Regions from separate parts of the Homo sapiens genome. Here regions 2 and 3 are each linked to region 1. Evidence: promoter capture Hi-C in 16 types of primary human blood cells and fetal thymus (Javierre and others, 2016). All regions are on one chromosome and are shown on one strand. Each heading gives the region's core, a stretch centred on a gene start or on the middle of the fragment in contact. The rest is flanking DNA. Distances are from core to core; before and after follow the strand shown. Region 1 holds the start of HDAC1 (histone deacetylase 1). Region 2 overlaps TXLNA (taxilin alpha). Region 3 overlaps BSDC1 (BSD domain containing 1).

The links. Contacts are between HindIII fragments. The CHiCAGO score rates a contact against its expected background, and 5 or more counts as called.
Region 2: a fragment that was not itself captured here is called in contact with the fragment with the promoter of HDAC1 in region 1 in 4 of 17 cell types (total CD4 T cells, non-activated CD4 T cells, naive CD8 T cells and 1 more); the score reaches 7.0 in total CD4 T cells.
Region 3: a fragment that was not itself captured here is called in contact with the fragment with the promoter of HDAC1 in region 1 in 3 of 17 cell types (total CD8 T cells, non-activated CD4 T cells and naive CD4 T cells); the score reaches 5.8 in total CD8 T cells.

Annotation. Positions count from the first base shown.
Region 1 is chr1:32,290,571-32,293,513 of GRCh38, forward strand. HDAC1 (histone deacetylase 1) reads left to right here and starts at 1,513. Exons shown (of 14, transcript NM_004964.3): 1 at 1,513-1,648. The coding sequence starts at 1,600. RefSeq lists a silencer at 1,227-1,636 and enhancers at 2,247-2,306, 2,378-2,943. The HindIII fragment of the contact is 8,638 bases long and covers 1-2,943 here.
Region 2 is chr1:32,181,209-32,184,151 of GRCh38, forward strand. It overlaps TXLNA (taxilin alpha), which reads left to right. Exons shown (of 11, transcript NM_175852.4): 3 at 34-369. Among named protein-coding and RNA genes, the nearest start is that of TXLNA, 3.0 kb to the left of the region's middle. The HindIII fragment of the contact is 4,926 bases long and covers 1-2,943 here.
Region 3 is chr1:32,387,659-32,390,601 of GRCh38, forward strand. The region is part of intron 2 of BSDC1 (BSD domain containing 1); the gene reads right to left. Among named protein-coding and RNA genes, the nearest start is that of BSDC1, 5.3 kb to the right of the region's middle. The HindIII fragment of the contact is 8,104 bases long and covers 1-2,943 here.

The DNA of each region.
Region 1 (2,943 bases), core at 263-2,762:
AGTGGTTCTTAATGGTAGAGTTGGGGGCAATTTTACACTCCCTTACACCCCACTAATCTTCCCCCCAACCCAATGGTAAAGCTATTGCACAGTACTTGGCAATGTCTAGAGACAATTTTGGTTGTCACAGCCTGGGGGGAAGGTGCTACTGGCATCTAGTGGGTAGAGGCTAAGGATGCTGCTTAATTTTTTTTTTTTTTGAGACAAGAGTTTCACTCTAGTTGCCCAGGCACAGAACAGCTTCACAGAAGCTGTTAATGCACAGAATAGCTTCCTACAAAAAAGCATTACCTGGCCCAAAATGTCATTAGCTACCAGGCTGAGAAACCTGCCCTCCTAGGCCGGGCGCTGTGGCTCACGCCCGTAATCTCAGCATATTGGGAGGCCGAGGTGGGCGGATCCTGAGGTCAGGAGTTCGAGACCACCTGGACCAACACGGAGAAACCCAGTCTCTACCAAAAATACAAAATTAGCCGGGCATGGTGGCACATGCTTGTAATCCCAGCTACTCGGGAGGCTGAGGCAGGAGAACCGCTTGAACACAGAGGCAGAGATTGTGGTGAGCCGAGATCACACCATTGCACTCCAGCCTGGGCAACTAGAGCGAAACTCTTGTCTCAAAAAAAAAAAAAAAAAAAAAAACAGGGAAAGAAAAGAAAGGAAACCTGCCCTCCTATCATAGGATAATCCCATTTCCTCCTGTCTAAAGAGACGCCTACTTAGTCATCCTGGGTGACTGCATCAGGGAGGTAGATTTTGGAGTCTGAAAGGCTGGGTTCTGTCACTTTGTTACAGTGCCTCTGGTGCAAAGAAAGCATTTTAAAAACCCTGTACAATTAAAAAATTGAATTTAATTACTTTGTGTAACTTTGAATAATTCACAGAAGTCTGAACTTCTTTATCCTGTCCTGTAAAATGGAGGTAAAAAGCCCTTGGCCGAGAGCTGTTTTGAGGAAAAACTGAAATAACATTGGTAAAGTGTCGCACAGTACTTGGCACACAGCAGCCCCTCGACAAACATTAGCTTTCTTTCCCTTTCTTGTCGGTTTCTTCCTCTCCAAACCCGCGTGTTGCTTTTCTTTTTAATTATTTTTCTGTAGCCCTCCTTTGCGGCCACAAACTCGCTTTCTAACCCAGGTTCAGCCCTTTTATTGGCTGAGTGACCTTGTGCAAGTCACTTTTCCCCTGTAGGCCTCGGTTTATTCTCCGTAAAATCAGAAAGTTGGCCTCCGATCTCCAAGCACGCTTTTCACGACGAAGTGGGACTGTTAAGTTTACAGAGCTGCTTTCCTCCCCCGGGACTGATGGTACGGTCCCCGGGCGGCTCCCCACCCATCTGTCGCAGACCTTGGTACAGGCCCAGGGGGCCCTCGGCGGCCTCTCCGGGCTGCCCTTGCCCCCTGCCGAGTTCCGGGCCCGTGTCTGCGCAAGCTGATTGGCTGGAGCGGTGCCCGGGCTGCGCGGCTATAGGTGAGCCCAGGAGGGGACGGGCGGGGCGGGCCGGAGGCCCGCCCCCTCCCCCCTGGGTCGGACGCTGAGCGGAGCCGCGGGCGGGAGGGCGGACGGACCGACTGACGGTAGGGACGGGAGGCGAGCAAGATGGCGCAGACGCAGGGCACCCGGAGGAAAGTCTGTTACTACTACGACGGTGAGCACCGTCCTCGCGGCGGGGGCGGGGCCAGGCCGGGCCGGACCGGGAACCTGGAGGCTGAGGCTGGAGCGCCGATGGGAGGCTGCGGGAGGCTGAGGCGCTGGGGAGAGGCTCGGAGAGGAGGCTGCGAGGGGGAAGTCGAGGCTGAGGGAGGAGGCTGCGAGGAAGGGAGATCGAGGCTGAGACCAAGAGGGGATCGCGTGGGGGAAGCGTGAGGTAATCTTGATGGGAAGATTCTGAGGAAGTCTGATGTGGAGAGTTTGAGTGGGACTCCTAGAGGGGAGGGTGCGTCGGAGCGGGGAGGCTGAATCTGATGGAGACGGCTGCAAGGATACATTTTCTTGCCGAGAACCCAAAGCTCTTCCCTGCCCCGTCCCTTCCTCATCTTTTCTGGGGGAAGAGTCCTGCACGACTGGTTGCCCGCCTCCCCTCCCCCAGCCTCTGAGCGGGGCCTGCGGTTGCTACTGCGACGTGGGGCGCCAGGGGTTGCAAGGAGAAGGATGCAACCTGTTAAAACAGACTTCTCACTTAATCTCTCAAGCAGGTTACTGTGTTCGAGGAAGTGTTGAGGGGCTGGGGCCGTGGGGTTGATCGGGTCACCCTTCCCAGTGACCGAAGTTCTCTCCGTGTCAGAGCTCAGAGTGTTAGGGGAGCACAGAGAAGAGGCACCGAACTCCACCTGAGGAGTCAGCGAAGGAGGGGACATCTTAGTTAGGACCTGAAGAACAGGAGTTCTTAGCCAGGCACAGGGAAGGCAAAGATAACAGCAAGTTTCAGAGGCAAGAGAGAGGACAGGACCTTTGAAAAACAGGCATTTGGCCGGGCGTGGTGGCTCACGCCTGTAATCCCAGCACTTTGGGAGGCCGAGGCTGGTGGATCACCTGAGGTCAGGAGTTCGAGACCAGCCTGGCCAACATGGTGAAACCCCGTCTCTACTAAAAATACAAAATTAGCCGCGCATGGTGGTGTGCGCCTGTAATCCCAGCTACTCTGGAGCCTAAGGCAGGAGAATCCCTTAGAACCCGGGAGGCAGAGGTTGCAGTGAGCTGAGATCGTGCCACTGCACTCCAGCTTGGACAACAGAGCGAGGCTCTGTCTTAAAAAAAAAAAAAAAAAAAGATGTAAATAGGGACCGGACCATGAAGGGCTGGGCATGCTGTCCCAAGGAAGTTGGACTTTATTGAGGGCACTTGTGAGTGATTCAAGTTTTATGCAGGTTATTGACATCATCAGGTTTATACCTTAGAAATTAAAGTAATGGGGGCCAGGTGCAGTGGCTCACACCTCTCTAA
Region 2 (2,943 bases), core at 231-2,730, 110 kb before region 1:
TCTCACTCTACCCCTCATCCTCTCCTGCTGTAGGGGCTCAAGCCAGAACGGCTCAGTCTGGGGCCCTTCGTGATGTCTCTGAGGAGCTGAGCCGCCAACTGGAAGACATACTGAGCACATACTGTGTGGACAATAACCAGGGGGGCCCCGGCGAGGATGGGGCACAGGGTGAGCCGGCTGAACCCGAAGATGCAGAGAAGTCCCGGACCTATGTGGCAAGGAATGGGGAGCCTGAACCAACTCCAGTAGTCAATGGAGAGAAGGAACCCTCCAAGGGGGATCCAAACACAGAAGAGATCCGGCAGAGTGACGAGGTCGGAGACCGAGACCATCGAAGGCCACAGGAGAAGAAAAAAGCCAAGGGTTTGGGTGAGCAGAGGGCGGCTCTTTGTGAAGCTGGTGAGGAGAGGGAGTTTGGACTTGACGTTCTCTGGGCCAGTCTGTTCTGCCAGGATTCAAAGGAAAACGGTACTTCTCAGAGCAGCAAGTCACTCTAGTCTAATCAAAGCCAGGGATGTGGGGGCCACGGCATAGAGAGATGCAGGAGTTACCAGCACAAAGCCTTCTGGGTTTTGGAGCAACTGGAGCTTGGCATGGGACCTGTTCTCTCTTTGAGAAAATGGAGACGGGAGGCTAGGGTAGGCTCCTGTGCCAGCCAGTACTACCTGCTGTGTGACCTTGGGTGTGTCCCTTCTCCTCTCTGGGTCTTAGTTTATATTTCTCTTTACAGTAAGAAAATTAGACTAGGCCAGAGTTGAAAACCCAAATATCTGCATAAGCTGGGCTGGCCATGGGGCCACCTGAAGATGGAGGCTTTACTGCTTCCTGATTAGTTGCTCTCAGCTAGCCAACTGAGAGCAGGCAAAACTACAGGCTGGGTGCAGTCAGGCTTTTTTTTTTTTTTTTTTTTTTTAAATAAAGAAAAGCCAGAAATCTAGAGTTATGTGAGAACTCTAGATTTTTTCATAGTTAGCAGCTAAAATGGTAAGAGCCAAACAAAACCCATCCGTGGGTTGGATTTGGCACACATGCCTGCGAATTGCAGTCTCCATGCTGATCTCTTGGGCCCTTCTGGGGAGGCAGAGGGAAGGCTCCCTGACTCAGTCACAGGCAATGGGGAATAGGCAGTGACAGTCATTTTACAGCAGGGTATGTATGTTTAAGAGTCTAGGCCGGGTGTGGTGGCTCACGCCTGTAATTGCAGCACTTTGGGAGGCCGAGGCGGGTGGATCACCTGAGGGTCAGGAGTTCGAGAACAGCCTGGCCAACATGATGAAATCCCGTCTCTACTAAAAATACAAAAATTAGCTGGACATGCTGGCACACGCCTGTAATCCCAGCTACTTGGGAGGCTGAGGCAGGAGAATGGCTTGAACCCGGGAGGCAGAGGTTGCAGTGAACTGAGATTGTGCCACTACATCCAGCCTGGGTGACAAGAGTGAAACTCTGTCTCAAAAAAAAAAAAAAAGAATCTAGAATCTAAGTCGAGTGTCATTATATCCATGTTTTATTCCTATTCCCTTTTCCCCTTATGTATCCTCTTACTTTAAAGAGGAACTTTAAAAAATCTTAGGGACGACTAGGCAGAGTGGCTCACACCTGTAACTCCAGCACTTTGGGAGGCCAAGGCAGGCAGATTATGAGGTCAGGAGTTCGAGACCAGCCTGGCCAACATGGTGAAACCCCAGTTCTACTAAAGATACAAAAAATCAGCCGGGCGTGGTGGCACGTGCCTATAATCCCAGATACTCGGGAGGCTGAGGCAGGAGAATCACTTGAACCCGTGAGGCAGAGTTTTCAGTGAGCTGAGATCATGCCATTGCACTCCAGCCTGGGTGACAGGGTGAGACTCCATCTCAAAAAAAGAAAAAGGAAAAAATCTTAACGTCACATACATGGAAAGTATCATCTTCTTCACCCCCCACCCCCAACTGAGATGGAGTCTTGCTCTGTCACCCAAGCTGGAGTGCACTGGCGCGATCTCAGCTCCCTGCAAGCTCCGCCTCCCGGGTTCACACCATTCTCCTGCCTCAGCCTCCCGAGTAGCTGGGACTACAGGCGCCTGCCACCATGCCCGGCTAATTTTTGTATTTTTTTAGTAGTGACAGGGTTTCACTGTGTTAGCCAGGATAGTCTCGATCTCCTGACCTCATGATCCGCCCACCTGGGCCTCCCAAAGTGCTGGGATTACAGGCGTGGGCCACCGTACCCTGCCTTTTTTTTTTTTTTTTTTTTTTGAGATGGAGCCTCGCTCTGTCCCTAGGTTGGAGTGCAGTGGCGCGATCTCGGCTCACTGCAAGCTCCACCTCCTGGGTTCACGCCATTCTCCTGCCTCAGCCTCCCGAGTAGCTGGGACTACAGGCTCCTGCTACCATGCCCGGCTAATTTTTTTGTATTTTTTTTAGTAGAGACGGGGTTTCACTGTGTTAGCCAGGATGGTTTTGATCTCCTGACCTCGTGATCCGCCCGCCTCAGCCTCCCAAAGTGCTGGGATTACAGGCGTAAGCCACTGTACCCTGCCTTTTTTTTTTAATTAATTAATTTTTTTAGACAGAGTCTCGCTCTGTCACCAAGCTGGAGTGCAGTGGCGCGATCTGGGCTCACTGCAACCTCCGCCTCCTGGGTTCAAGCGATTCTCCTACCTCAGCCTCCGGAGTAACTGGGACTACAGGCGCGTGCCACCACACCAAGCTAATTTTTTTGTGTATGTCTTTAGTAGAGATGGGGTTTCACCATGTTAGGATGGTCTCGATCTCTTGACCTCGTGATCCGCCTGCCTCGGCCTCCCAAAGTGCTGGGATTACAGGCATGAGCCACCTTGCCTGGCCGAAAGTATCTTCATTTTAAAGTTCACTGTTTGGCTACTCTGTTGACAAGAGTTTAGTATTTCTCAAGGAGGCTAAGATACCTATTCCTTTTTGGATCCTACCTCTATCAGGAGGG
Region 3 (2,943 bases), core at 157-2,656, 97 kb after region 1:
AAAGGAAAGTGTTTCTATTTTTACTTTTTTTGTTACAGAGAAATTGAGTTGAAATATGAGGCAGTATGTGAAGTTATTTGCCTTCGGGTTTAAGAATTAGTAATTACTAATTGTATTAGTAACAGCAATAGCTTGGAAAGCTATTTTATGAGTAATTCTTAACAATTTAATATCAGTAAAAAGGCATGTGATTTTTTACATTCAACAAAGGAGGAAGCGGTCAAGAGAAAGACTAGATCAGATTCTCTTGGAGGCCTTCTTGGTTCTACCATCCCGAGGTTCTATTCATATACAAAGCTCCTTTGGGCAGAATGCATATTTGCTCCTGCTAAACCAATCTGTTTCTCAGCCTGCACCCAGACCTCACTTGAGAAAGCAGACCCTCAGCTCACTTCTAGGTCTTGCCCTGTCTTGCTTCAGACTCACCAACTCTAGGATGCTTCCTGGAGTATCTCAGTGGCCACTCCCCCTGCAAGCCCTTTCATCTTACACGGGGATAATCACCTGCATTTTTTAAAGCATGTTTTTGAGCGCTCCTGTGGTTTGTTCTTCTGGGAAGGGCCTGCCCACTTTTCATTAGCTTGGGAAGTTTCTGAATGGCACAGTCTATCAGCTACAGGCTTCTCTAGGGGTGGTAATCATGCCTCCATATCAACTCAGGACTCCTTAATTGGGGGTGGAGGAGGTCATTTACTTATTTACTTTTATTAAAATTTTAAAAAATATTTCACAGCACCATGAAATTGTGCCCTGGGTCATTTACCGATTCACTCTTTCTATCCACACTGCCACCATCTTAGTCCAGGCCAACTTATTCTTTCACCTGGATTCCTCCCAGGTTGTCTCAGCCACCTTTACTTCATTCTCCTTATGACACCCAGTGGGTGCTTTGTCTGTCAGGGCAGACCGTGCTGCTTTACACTCTTTAAGTTTACACACTATCCTAAGAGCAAATTGAAAATCCACCTTTACTTACAAAGCCTATATAACTTGGCCTCTGGCAGACTGGTATCCCCTACCACTGTGCCGTTCACTGAGCTCCAGCTGGCCTTCCTCAAGTTTCTAAAATGCCCTAGCATCTGTCCTGCCTCAGAGTATCTGAACACATTGTTTCCTCTCCCTGATACAGAGTTCTAACTCTTCAAAAAAACCAAGTCTGTAAACACGATGAAGGAACCCTCTTATCTGGAAAACTCCTGTTCATCCTCAACGTCTATGCTTCATTTCCCTAGAGGGGCTTCCTGCTGCCTCTTCAGGCTCAGCTGGCTCTCCCTGCTTTATCTCTTCTTCTTTTTTTTCTTTTTTTTTTTTTTTGAGATGGAGTTTCGCTCTGTTACCCAGGCTGGAGTGCAGTGGCGCGATCTCTGCTCACTGCAACCTCTGCCTCCCGGGTTCATGCCATTCTCCTGCCTCAGCCTCCCGAGTAGCTGGGACTACAGGCGCCCGCCACCAAGCCCAGCTAATTTTTTGTATTTTTAGTAGAGACGGGATTTCACTGTGTTAGCCAGGATGGTCTCGATCTCCTGACCTCATGATTCGCCCACCTTGGCCTCCCAATTTATCTCTTTTCTAACACTGAACATAGTTTAGACTTCAGATGACCTGTTCAATGTCTGTCTTCCTGGATAAACTGTGAGTTGTGTGAACACAGGTCCTATGTGTTTTGTTCCCTGATGGTTCCCCAGTATCTGACACAGAGCATACAGTAGGTACTCAAAAAATGTTTGCTTGTTAAATTTACATGGACCATTGAAATTTCAATTATGTAACCACTTGTGTGACTAAACAGTTGTCTTCCCGCTAGACTGTGAGCTCTGAGCAGACAAACATGAACATACGTTGCCCTCAAGCAGGTCACAGTCTACTGGGGAAAATGGTCCCATGATAGTGCTGATGTGCAAGGGCAGAGCAGTAGCTGCTGTACTATGGGGAGGTTGGGAAGATGTGGTGACCAGAAGCCTGGAATGGGCCCTTAAAGAATGAACAGGAGTTGGTTAAGAAGTATTGATGTGGGCCAGGTGCAGTGGCTGATGCCTGTAATCCCAGCACTTTGGGAAGCCGAGGCAGGAGGATTGCTTGAGCCCAGGAATTTGAGACCAGTTTGGACACTATGGCAAAACCGTCTCCACACACACACACACACACACACACACAAATACAAAAAATTAGCCAGAAGTGGTGGTACACGCCTATAGTCCCAGCTACCCAGGAGGCTGAGGTGGGAGAATCACCTGAGCCTGGGTGGTTGAGGCTGCAGTGGGCTGTGATCATGCCACTGCACTCCAGTCTGGGTAACAGAGTGAGACCCTGTCTCAAAAAAAAAAAAAAAAAAGAACAGGAGTCAGCTAAGAAGTGTTGACATGGGTTTAGTGACGTCTACAAGCATTACAGTCCTGATGGACATAAAATGTGAAGCAAGAGTGGTGAGGGATAAAGCTGGAGAGGTTGCCAAGGGCAACCAGGGAGAGCCTGGTCAGCCCTATGGATGATGGGGAGCCACCAAAGGTTTGAAGTGGGTGGGACATGAGATTTGCCTTTTCACTAAATTACTCCAGTGACTGGAATGGAGGAAAGGTCCAGAGGCGAGAAGATTAGAAGAGGAAGAAGGAAGACCAGTCAGGAGGCTGCTGCAATAATCCAGGAAAGAAAATAGAAAAATGTGAGTAAGGACAATGCTAGTAAAGATGGAGAGGATGAGACTGGTTCAAGATACAGGAGATGGAAGAAGGTGGATTTGGTGACTGAACAGGTATGTTGACTGAGGGCTAGAAAAGAATCATGGAAGCACCACAGGCTGCTAAAATAGGTGACTGCGTAGATGCAGTACTGCCAGCTAAGTGAGAAAATCCTGGAGGAGGAGCAGTCCTAGAGACAAGGTGGTAACAATGACTTTGGGCACGCAGAACTTGAGATGACTGTGGGCTGTCTAGGATAGCTGTCCAG